Linked DNA regions of Homo sapiens: regions 1 and 2 are each linked to region 3. Evidence: promoter capture Hi-C in human tissues and cell types (Jung and others, 2019). All regions are on one chromosome and are shown on one strand. Each heading gives the region's core, a stretch centred on a gene start or on the middle of the fragment in contact. The rest is flanking DNA. Distances are from core to core; before and after follow the strand shown. Region 1 overlaps LOC100507002 (a long non-coding RNA gene). Region 2 has its middle 160 kb from the start of LINC02563. Region 3 holds the start of PRKCA (protein kinase C alpha).

The links. Contacts are between HindIII fragments. The study calls those that stand out against the background at their distance.
Region 1: a contact is called between a fragment that was not itself captured here and the fragment with the promoter of PRKCA in region 3, in 1 of the 25 tissues and cell types used here (dorsolateral prefrontal cortex).
Region 2: a fragment that was not itself captured here is called in contact with the fragment with the promoter of PRKCA in region 3 in 1 of the 25 tissues and cell types used here (spleen).

The regions. Positions count from the first base shown.
Region 1 is chr17:65,107,214-65,110,995 of GRCh38, forward strand. LOC100507002 (a long non-coding RNA gene) reads left to right here. Exons shown (of 3, transcript NR_110801.1): 3 at 3,503-3,782. Among named protein-coding and RNA genes, the nearest start is that of RGS9, 28 kb to the right of the region's middle. The HindIII fragment of the contact is 6,493 bases long and covers 1-3,782 here.
Region 2 is chr17:65,298,218-65,302,199 of GRCh38, forward strand. No RefSeq gene overlaps it. Among named protein-coding and RNA genes, the nearest start is that of LINC02563, 160 kb to the right of the region's middle. The HindIII fragment of the contact is 6,261 bases long and covers 1-3,982 here.
Region 3 is chr17:66,300,844-66,304,793 of GRCh38, forward strand. It overlaps PRKCA (protein kinase C alpha), which reads left to right and starts at 1,770. Exons shown (of 17, transcript NM_002737.3): 1 at 1,770-2,181. The coding sequence starts at 2,009. RefSeq lists an enhancer at 2,564-3,065. The HindIII fragment of the contact is 12,107 bases long and covers 1-3,950 here.

The sequences.
Region 1 (3,782 bases), core at 671-3,170, 1.2 Mb before region 3:
CATGGGCTAATTTATAAAGAAAAGAAGCTTATTTGGCTCACGGTTATGGAAGCTGGGAAGACCAAGGGCATGGTGACAGCTTCTGGTAAGGGATTTTTTTTTTTTTTTTTTTGAGACAGAGTCTCGCTCTGTCACCCAGGCTGGAGTGCAGTGGCCTGATTTCAGCTCACTGCAAGCTCCGCCTCCTGGGTTCACGCCATTCTCCTGCCTCAGCCTCCCTAGTAGCTGGGACTACAGGCACCTGCCACCATGCCTGGCTAATTTTTTGTATTTTTAGTAGAGACGGGGATTCACTGTGTTAGCCAGGATGGTCTCAATCTCCTGACCTCGTGATCTGCCCGCCTCAGCCTTCCAAAGTGCTGGGATTACAGGCGTGAACCACCATGCCTGGCCCCTGGTAAGGGATTTCATACTGCATTATAACACAGCAGAAATGGGGAAGGGCAAGTGAGTGCACGCAAAAGACACCTCAGGGCACTAACTCAGTCCCTTGGAAATGATCTCACTCACAAACAGCATTAATCCACTTATGGGGCTCTACCCTTATTACCTAATTCCCTTTTAAAAGGCCCCACCTCTCAATACTGTTACATTAGCAACTAAGTTTCCAACACATGGACTTCTGAGGGACACACTCAAACCTATAGAAGCATCCTGTGATCACAGTCCCTTTTCAGCTCCTGTGCAATTAGGATCTGTATGCTTCACATGAGACACATTTTTATTCTGTGCTGTGTATTGGTCATCTCTCTCTATATACTTTACCACCTCAGCTCCCAGAGGACAAAGATTATGTTGTTTATTTGTAGCAGTCATGCCACTGGATTCATAAAAAGTATTCAATTAAATCTCACTCTTTGCATTAGGTTGTCTAACTGAGTTTTTCTTATGTGTCTTTACTGTCTGGTCCCTAGAAGGCATATTGTGACAATGATAACATCTATCACTACCACTCCCACCCTATTGTCACTGTTCCTATATTGCCTTAGGGATTATATAACTGTTTCATATTCATTATTTTCATTTGATCACAAGCACCCTTTTAAATAGATAGGGCAGATATTAGATGTTTTTTTCCTTAGTGGATGAAAATACTAAGGTTCAGAGAGGTCAGTTAACTGGTCCAGTGTCACACAGCTGACATCATCTATTTTTCAGCTTCACTGAGGCTAGAAAAACCAGTGGTCTCATTCTGAGGACGGCTACGTGCATATATGTTAAAAGGACTTTGTGAACTGAGGGCTCATACAATGGTGCATAGAATTATGATTAATGGCAGCCAGACACGGTGGCTCACGCCTGTAATCCCAGCACGTTGGGAGGCCGAGGCAGGCAGATCACGAGGTCAGGAGATCGAGACCATCCTGGCTGACATGGTGAAACCCTGTCTCTACTGAAAATACAATACAAAAAAATTAGCCGGGCGTGTTGGTGGGTGCCTGTAGTCCCAGCTACTTGGGAGGCTGAGGCAGGAGAATGGCGTGAACCTGGGAAGCGGAGCTTGCAATGAGCAAGATCGCGCCACTGAACTCCAGCCTGGGCGACGGAGCAAGACTCCGTCTCAAAAAAAAAAAAAATTATGATTAATGGCAGAAAAATAGATACTGCAAGATTGAAACAGTTCAATGAAGACAGAGCAGTATGGATGGATGGCTCTGGATTTGGTTGATAGGAGCCAAAGAGTTGATTGCGTTTGAGGGGCCCTCCAGGTGCAGATGTGTAGCAGGCAGCGGGAAATAACTCTGAGGAGGGCGGCAAGGGCAGAGTAAATGGGTGAGGAATGACCTTCATTCTTACTGTAGGTCTCCTGTATACCCTGATATTTCCTGTCTCCATTCCTTTGCTTCTGTTGTACCTTCATCCTGGGATGCCTCTCCTCACCCCAGAGCTTGAGGCTGTTATTTCCAGTTGGCTGCTACACATTTCTGTGTATATGTTCCAGAGCACGGCACAAACAAGTTTTTCTCTTTCAAAACAGGCTGCTTTCTTTTGTGTTTCCTGTTTTAAATACTGACTACCACCATTGGCTTGGCAGAGAGGTAGGAAATCTTGGAATCATATTCTCTTGCCTTCACCAAATTGTATACATTATCAACTAAGTTTCAAACACACAAACTTTTGGGAGTCACCTTCAAACCACAGGACCATCCTATGATTGCTGTCCCTTTTGAGCTCCTGTGCAATTAGGATTGCAGTGTCTAAGTACAAGAGACTCATCTATAGTGCTTCTAGTGACCATATTCTCTTACTTTTCCTCATTGCCTCTGCCTGAACTGTGCTCTCTCCTGCATGATTATTTCCTCTGATACAGAAAGGTTTACTCCTCCTTTTTCTCTACTTGGCCGTACCATGGGTTCCCTTCCAAGTTCACTTCCTCTAGGAAGTATTTCTTGATTATTTGTCTTAGTCCATTTTCTGTTGCTCTAACAGAATACCCGAGACTGGGCAATTTACAAAGAAAAGAAGCTTATTTGGCTCACGATTATGGAGGCTGCGAAGTCCAAGGGCATGGCTACAACTGCATACCCTCCTTTTTGCATCTATAATTTTGCACATCTAAAACCATCTATAATTTTGCAAAACAAGGCAAACTCTGCTGCTTCTCCATGAGAGCTTCCATTTGTCTATGAATGACATCGAAGACCTATTGTGTCCTGGATTTATTTGCTCTCCCTTGGCATGCCATGCAGTTTTACCCATTCATGCCTTTGCACGTGCTTGTTCCTCAGCCTGGAATGCTCCTTTTCTCTGGGGCAGAAGCAACAACTTCTTGCCAAATAGCCCATGTTCTCTGAGTTAGAATTACTGGGCCATGAGCAGAAGTGTTGTGTGGGTTTTCAGGCTGAAGTCTTGAAGGGTGAGTACCAATTCTCCATGTTTTTCTCTCTTCCCCTGCACAGTGATGGAGCACATGTAATGGAATGAGAAACCATAAATGGTAGCAGCCTAGAGAGTTGAGTCAAGACATCAAGGGAGGGCCCTGGACACTGCCCAACTTGACTTAGCATTTTCTTAAGAGAGATAAACCCTTGTTGGGTTAAATCTGTGTTACCACAGCATAATCTAAATTATCCTGAGTAATACATTCTCATTTTCTGCCAGTTACAAATCTTTAAGTATCAGCTTAAATCCTCTTTCTTTAAAAGCCTTCCAGAACCAACCCACCCCTAGCCAGAATTGATGTCTTTTCTTTGTGCTTTCACAGCCTGTGTAACTTATGTCTATTTGACACTTAATGCCTAGTATTATGGTTGGTCATGTAGAGTTAGTGACAGAATGAGTAAGAGTATGAATTCCAAAGCCAGACTGACTGGTTCACATATCAGCTCTGTCATTTACCAGCAGTGGGAATTTCGATGAGTTACTTAGACTTCCAGAACTTGGGTTCATATTTGTCCCTCCAGAACCTACCAGAGTGTCCGACATAGTAATTATATTACATATGTCAATAATTATGTTAAATAATACCTGTTTACCGGCCTCCTTCTTTTTTGTCTTGCAGGTTGAAATATCAGTAAAAAACATGCAGACCCAAAGATGGGGACCAAAATCCAAAGCCAGAGGGTCCTGGAAATCAGAGGGTCTTACAACATAACAGGCAGTACAGGCCATGGCTCAGGCTAGGCGTGGAACAGACTGCAGTTCTCTTCTACAAATCAATCTAGACTGGACAGACAGAACTCCAAGGGAGGAAAGAAAAATGAATCTGATGTTACTTCTTGAAACCACATTTTCTGAAGTCACCATTTTTATGTATCTATCAACTCATCATTTTTATGTAT
Region 2 (3,982 bases), core at 1,217-3,716, 1.0 Mb before region 3:
TTAGAAGTTCTGTGACATTTTACTGTTTTATGGGGACAATCAAATAGAATATTTGAAATCTGAGCCATCTCTGAAGAACTCGTTTTGGAAAATCCAGGGCATCTGGTCGCAGTCAACAGAGCGCCTTGCCTTCTTCAAAGCTCCCTGGATTCCGCACACATAAAAGGCCCATGACATGCTGTGGCCCCCAAGTCATCCCCCTTCTCAAGTCTCACATCAGTCAGCCCCTTATTAGACTGCTGAGTCGAGTCTGTGTCACTCCCTCCTAAAAGGGCTTGGAGAGGCTGGAGGATGTCCAGGCAGGAGACACAAAAATGATCAAAGAGCTGGAAACTGGGCCCTGTAAAGAAAGGTTAAAGGAATTGGAAGTGGTTTGCCTGGAAAAAGCGAGGGAGAGTCTGAAGCACCCAAATTCAGAGATGAACCACACAAACCTCACGTTAGCCTCGGTTTTCCTGCCACTTGCAGCTTTCATTTGCAGGGTCAAATGGAAGCAATAACCAATCGTTCACTTTGATCGTGAACTTATGATGCTCCCAGCTTTCTCAGTACTTGGCGTGGTTATCTCATTTCATTGTCATGACCGTCCTATGACTGTCCCTGCCTTTCAGATGAAGAAGCGGAGGCCCAGAAGAGAAGTTATGTAACTAGCTTGAGTTCATTCCACTAGGGAGTGATGGGTGCAGGCTACAGACTCTAGGCTAGGGACACTAGGGAGTGATGGGTGCAGGCTAGGGTGCACACTAGGGAGTGATGGGTGCAGAAGATGCTTCAGACTACATCTCCAACAGCAAGTGTTTTTATGGGTGTCCTTTTTTTTTTTTTTTTTTAGACAGGATCTTAGAGTTTCATTCTGTCACCAAAGCTGGAGTGTAGTGACGATCATGGCTCACTGCAGTCTTGAACTCCTGGGCTCAAGCAATCCTCCCACCTAGGCCTCCCAAGCAGCTGAGAACACAGGTGCTTGCCACCACACTTGGCTAATTTTTTAAAATTTATTTTTTGTAGAGTTGGAGTCTTGCTATGTTGGCCAGGCTAATCTCGAACTTCTGACTTCAAGCCATCCTCCTACTTCAGCCTCCCAAAGTGCTGGGATTACAGGCATGAGCTGCCATGCCCAGCCTACAAGTACCCTTTAAAAATGTAGCCTCATGTCATACAGTACAGCATGAAATTTGCAGGTGATTGTTAACAACAAAAACTCCTTAAATGACTGAAGGCATTGAGCTGTCACCAGGTTTGGGTTCAGCAATGTGCCCTATACAATGTAATATCATCACTCCCCCTGTTACCTCAGGTGTTGTGGGCTCAATTGTGTGTCTCCTCCCCCCACCCCCAAATTTTTGTGTTGAAGTCCTAACCTCCAGTACTTCAAGTTGTGACTGCATTTGGAGATACAGTCACTGAAGAGGTAATTAAGTTAAAATGAGGTCATTAGAGCAGGTCCTAATTTACTATGACTGATGTCTTTATAAGAAAAGGAGGTTGGGACACAGATACCCTCAGAGTAAAGATCATATGAAAGCAGAGGGAGGCAGCCAGGCGCAGTGGCTCACGCCTGTAATCCCAGCACTTTGGGAGGCCTTGGCGGGTAGATCACTTGAGGTCAGGAGTTTGAGATCAGCCTGGCCAACATGGCGAAACCCCATCTCTACTAAAAATACAAAAATTAGCCAGGCATTGGTGGCTCATGCCTGTAGTCCCAGCTACTCGAGAGGCTGAGGCTGGAGAATTGCTTGAGCCTGGGAAGTGGAGGTTGCAGTAAGCCAAGATCATGCCACTGCACTCCAGCCTGGGTGACAGAGCAAGACCCTGTCTCAAAAAAAAAAAAAAAAAAAGAAAAGACAGGGAGAAGACAGCTGGCTGAGCCACGGAGAGAGACCTCAGAAGAAACCAACCCTGCTGACACCTTGATCTTGGACTTCCAGCTTCCAGAACTGCAAGATAATAAATTTCTGTTGTTGAAGCCACCCAGACTGTGGTACTTTATTATGGCAGTCCCTTACAAACAATACACTGGGCAATCCTCAAAATAACCTCTTATTAACCCCCTTTTAAAAAAGAAGAAACAGAGACTTGGAGGGTCTTAGTCACTTGCCCACTGTCACACAGAGAGCTGGTGGCAGAAATAGATTCACATCCCTTTCTTGTCATTCAGAGTCCCGTGCTCCTTTAACGTCCCTCCAGAACATAGTGGAGACAAAGAAACACAAACAGTGGGCAACATTTGCCTGGAAGGTCAAACCCTTGCTGACATAGGCTGTGTTTCCATCCTGCAGCTCAGCAGACCTTCCCATCCCCTAATGTGGAGACACAGAGTTTTATTTAATAGGGAACCCAAACATGGGCAGGAAGACCCTGTCAATTGCAAAGCAAACAGGGGCAGAAAGGCTTGGCAAGGTGCTCTTAAAATGCAAGTCTGGGGCCAGGTGAAGTGGCTCATGCCTGTAATCCCAGCACTTTGGGAGGCTGAGTAGGGTGGATCACTTGAGGTCAGGAGTTCAAGACCAGCCTGGCCAACATGGCAAAACCCCGTCTCTACTAAAAATACAAAAATTAGCTGGGCATGGTGGTGCATGACTGTAATCCCAGCTACTTGGGAGGCTGAGGCACGAGAATTGCTTAAACCCAGGAGGTGGAGGTTGCAGTGAGCTGAAATCACACCATGGCACTCCAGCCTGGATGACCGAGAGAGACCCTGCCTCAAAAAGAAATAAAAATTTAAAAATAAAATAAATGCAAGTCTGAAAAAGCCTTACTGGTTCCTCAGGGGGATAATGCAATGCGTCAGTGCATCTTGAACTATAAGAAAATTCCTTCAGATGAAAGAAGAACATGCTGGCCATCACCATGCTAGGAAAAATGTGGATTTAGGCCTTCATAATCAGACCTCCACTTCAGTACAGGGGCATGATCACCACTGAATTAATAGTAAAAGATGATGAAGTTCCACAGCCCAGCTGCAGCTCTACAGGTCAAGGTAGGAGATGGAGTCTACAGAAGAAGGCAGTCCTAGGTGCTAAGGGCTCTAAGGGGCCCCCAGAGATCATCAGGATCTGGCTTCCCTGGAGGAAGCAGGTTTCTGGATGGGGAAGTGGCATCGGGAGGGGGTTGTGGGATTTGCTCATAGATCTTGGATCGCAGGAGATCCAATGTCCTCTGATTTCTGCCCATGAAGGGAACAGTCTTTGCATACCACAGTGATGACTACCACTTATGTCAGGTGCTGTGAGTACCAAGTCCTTTATATCTATTTTATTTCAAGGCTTGGTAACATTTCAAGATATTCTTATTTTACATGGGAAGAAACAGAAGCACAGAGAGGTAACTGAACAGAAGCCACAGCAATCATAAAAAAGGGCAGACCCAAGCCTTGAAACCAAGTCCGCTTTATTCTAAGCTTCCTGCCCTCTAAAATATGCCGTGTTTTCTCCTGACTCCCTATCTTTTCTTTGCTTTTCAACCTTCCCAGTGTTCAGCCTGACGCTATACCCAGTATGGGTGCCCAGTTCTGCTGAATCAAATAACAGCTATGGTAAAACACAACCCAAAGAATCCATCTCTCCATTGGACCAAAGCATTATTTGAGTGTTTCTCAAAGTGCCCCTTGGGATGCATTGTTCCTCACCAAAAGTGTTCTATGGTCAGATAAAAGTGGGAGCCATGCATATTACAGCCCCTTCTCTGAGAACCAGAAAGCACAACAGAGTGTGGAAGGAGCAGAGGATGCCGGATGAACTCAGCCCAGCCCAGCCCAGCCTTTGACTTCAGGAGGAGCTCAGCAAATATTTATTGACCAAACAAGTGAATGAATGAATGACCGTGTTGAAACATGTTCATTTGGCTTACCTGAGTGTATTAGCCTGCTCAGGCTGCCATAACAAAATACGTTAGACCTGGTGGCCTCAACAACAGAAATTTCTTTTTCTTTTCTTTTCTTTTTTTTTTTTTTTTTTGAGACAGAGTCTTGCTTTGCTGCCCA
Region 3 (3,950 bases), core at 520-3,019:
ATTTGATTTCTGCTTTCAAGCAATAAACCACCATGGCTTGAGATGCTTCTAGTGTTTCATGGAGAATTGGGACTATTTCCCCAACATGCCCTGCTCTTCATTCCTCTTTGCTTCTTCCCTTTTTGACTCCTTGGACCCGAGGGGCGACCATGAGTGGCGAAATTTCTGACCAGCTAGAATACCAGGCAGGTGCAGGCTCTTGAAGCACCAAGACTGGCTCAAGAGATTGTAAATGGATCAGTCAAGTGCATGCACCACTGACGGCCAGTCAGGAGAGCTTCCATTTGTTAAAAATATAAAGGACATTCCTATCATCAAGCATCACAATTAGGCAATCTCAAAGAAAACAATATTAGCTCTACTTGGCCTATGTTACATGCTCTAAGAAAGTATTTTAGAAAAGTTTTTTTTTTCAACATAAATTTATTGAAGGATCAAACGTGTTCTCTTTCTTGGTCTCTTTAGCTCGTAAAGTCGTTTTGGGGATTTCGTGAATCTGGCAAATAAAACAAAACACCAATGAAACGCTGAGAAATGATTATTTCCCTTATGTATTTTAGCGGCCTCCAGGCAGACCTGATAAATATTCAGCGAGTGATTAGCTGGTGCATCCCCACCTGCGTCCTTTGCATAGCCATGCCCGCTACTCTTTCACAGGCAGTTTTACTTGGTAAGTTACAAACGTACTGGCTGCACTCTGCACCTGACAGTATTGCAGTAATTAGCTTGGGATGCAAAATGATTTCTAAATTAAGGTCCTGGACTTGTAAAATCAAGAAAGCCTGATAATCAACATCGTCGCTCTGGTGGCCATTGAATAACGGGATAAATACCTAAGACAAGTCCTTTAACCATCCCACGTGGTGATAAATGCCCGACGTACAAATTAAAAGTCTCTACCACACGCAGGTGAAATAAGGTATAGGTCAAGAAGAGAAGGTAGGGGAAAGGGTCAATGCTTAATTATTTAAAAATCGCTCTCTTCCTCCTGTAGGAAGGTCTAGGGGCTAGGTCTTTTAGTGCACACGTGATGAAAGTGACATTTTGGCCAGGTGAAACCTCAAGCTGGTACAGGCAGCTAAAACACGGGCGTCGTGCCCTGGAGACACCGGGGGTCCTGAGGATGGGGAAGGGGCTCCCTGCTGCGGGTGCTGAGGGGTTAGGAGGTGAGCACCGGGCGGGAGGCTCCGGGGCAGGGGCTGCGCGTGGAGCCCACTCCCGGACGCGGGCTCCTCTCGGCCCGGCACGGGTGGCGCAGGACTCCGAGCCCGTCGACAAGAGAGAGAGCGGGAGTGGGAGAAGGAAGACCGGGAGAGGAGGAGGCCGGGCGGCAAGAGCGGAAGAAGAGGAGGAGAACTGAGGCGGAGGAGGGCGAGAGGGAGGAGAGCCGGGCGCAGGAAGGGGAGGAAAGAAAAAGGCGGCGGAGGAGCGCGGACCCGCCACTCCCGGCCTCCTCCCCCGCATCCCCACTCGGGCCGGCCCTCCCCCGGCCGCCGCCGCCGCCGCCGCCGCCGCCGCCGCCGCCGCCGCCGCCTCCCCTTGCCCAGTGTTCCCAGCACCGCAAGGCACTCGCTGCCTCCTCCGCACTCGGTCCGGTCCGCTCAGCGCCGCCGCCGCCGCACCCTCGCCGCACCCCCGCGCGCGCCCGGCCCGCGCGCCCCCGCCGCTCGTCCTCGCGGCCTCGCGCTCGGGGCATGCGCGGTGGGCGGTGCCGCTCCGGGCCGCCTCTGCCGCCGCGAGTAGGAAGCGCGAGCGCCGGGCACCGGGCTGTCAGTGAGCCTGGGGCCAGCGGGCGAGCCAGCGGCTCCGGCTCCCGCTCCCGCTCCGCGCAGCACCAGCCCGACTCTCCCCGGCCCCCGCCGCGCCCCCTCGCCGCGACCTCGGCCACCGGCCCGCGCCCCGCGCCCGGGGTCGCCCCGAGCCCGCACCTCTCCCCCGCCGCCCCCGCCCACCCGGCCCTCCGCGGCCGCAGCTCCCCGGCGGAGGCAAGAGGTGGTTGGGGGGGACCATGGCTGACGTTTTCCCGGGCAACGACTCCACGGCGTCTCAGGACGTGGCCAACCGCTTCGCCCGCAAAGGGGCGCTGAGGCAGAAGAACGTGCACGAGGTGAAGGACCACAAATTCATCGCGCGCTTCTTCAAGCAGCCCACCTTCTGCAGCCACTGCACCGACTTCATCTGGTAGGTGCCGGGCCGGGCACTCCTGCCCCGCTCCTCCCCGCCTCCGGGTCCCGGCACCCGGCGCTCCGGCGCGTCCGCCCCGGGGCTGGCTCACTCCGATAACTTGGAACCGGCGGGAGTCCGAACTCTTCGCCCGGAGTGACACGCGCGCCCGGCCCTGACACCGGCGGGCAGGACTCCCGGGACGTCGCCGTCCCGCCACACACACCCCCTGGCGCGAGAGGGAGGCTGGCCCCGTACGGTGGCGAAGGGGATCCCTCTCCGGGCCGGGCCCCTCACCTCCCCGGGCGCGCCCACCCGCACGCACCCAGCGGAGCGGCCGCTTGCCGGGGTGTGAGCCCAGGGGACAGGGGAGGAGGAGAGGCCCTAAGGGGGCAAAGGTTCCCGGAGAAACGCGCCCCGGAGTAACGGGGGAGCGGCGGCGATTGCACTGCGCGCGGTCCAAGTTGCTGGCGAGCCAGGCTGGGCGCGTTCGGGGTGGGGGGGTTGTGTTTGTGCTTCCCATCGGGCTGGACTGCGCTGGCATCTTGGGCCCCTGCCTACTGTAGGCTGCATCTACTGGGCACGGAGAGACTGACTTTTCTGAGTGAGCAGAGAGAGAGAGAGCAAACTGTTGAAAGCTTGCAGTGGGGGAGGGGGAGTTCTAGCAGGCAAATGGCACAAGGGCAGAGGGACTCATTTAAAATAGACCCTGTCGGCCAGGCGCGGTGGCTCACGCCTGTAATCCCAGCACTTTGGGAGGCCGAGGCAGGCGGATCACCTAAGGTCAGTAGTTCGAGACCAGCCTGGCAAACATGGTGAAACCCCGTCTACTAAAAATACAAAATTAGCCGGGCGTGGTGGCACACGCCTGTAATCCCAGCTACTCGGGAGGCTGAGACGGGAGACTCGCTTGAACCCGGGAGGCGGAGGCTGCAGTGAGCCGAGATCGGGCCACTGCACTCCAGCCTGGGTGAGACAGAGCGAGATTCCGTCTCAAAAAAAATGAAACAGACCCTGTCAACTCGAGATTAGACCTGTAACCCTGTTGATGAGGGCAGAGGCCTTATTTAAGAAAAATAATATAAGGGCCAGAGGTCAGAGATCAGGTAATCGCCAATGAATTCAGGCATTCTTAACTCGGAGGGTCCCTGGGGGCTTATGGAGAATCGATACATAGAAGGGCTTCAGGGGTCTCTGAACCCTGTAAAACTGAGGGAAATTGTGTTTGTGAATCTTTTTCCTGGTGAGAGAATTACAGCTTTCATCTGATCCTCAAAAGGTGTGTGACCCTTCTTCCCAGATCCCCGTCACCACACAAAAGTTTTGAAAGCTGGAACTAAAGGAGCTCTAGGTCCTCTAGTTAGAGCAGCAGTAGTTTGGTTTTTCTTTTAAGTTGCCCGACGTCCTGACTCTTCTACCTCTTCTTTGTGGTGTAGGAAGTTCCGGGCAAGACAGAGCTATGGCTAGGGCTTCTTAGCTCCCTCTCCTTCTAGGCCAGGGGGAGCTGCACAGGGTGGCAGTCACGGAGTGAATCCTGCCACCAGCCAGCTGTGTGGCACAGGTATCTTGGGCCACTAGGGTGAGCATAGTATGGATGGCTCTGTCGGAATCCATCACACCTGGGGAAAAACATCCCAAAGGGCAGGTCCCATGATCGTGGTGCGAATAAGGTGTTTAATTTTTCCTTTCCTTTTTAGACATCTGCTCCCAAGTACACTTTTATGAAAAGCACAGCCACCTCTATGAGTGATTTCCACTGTCTAGTCGGCATATGAAGCGACTGTGCT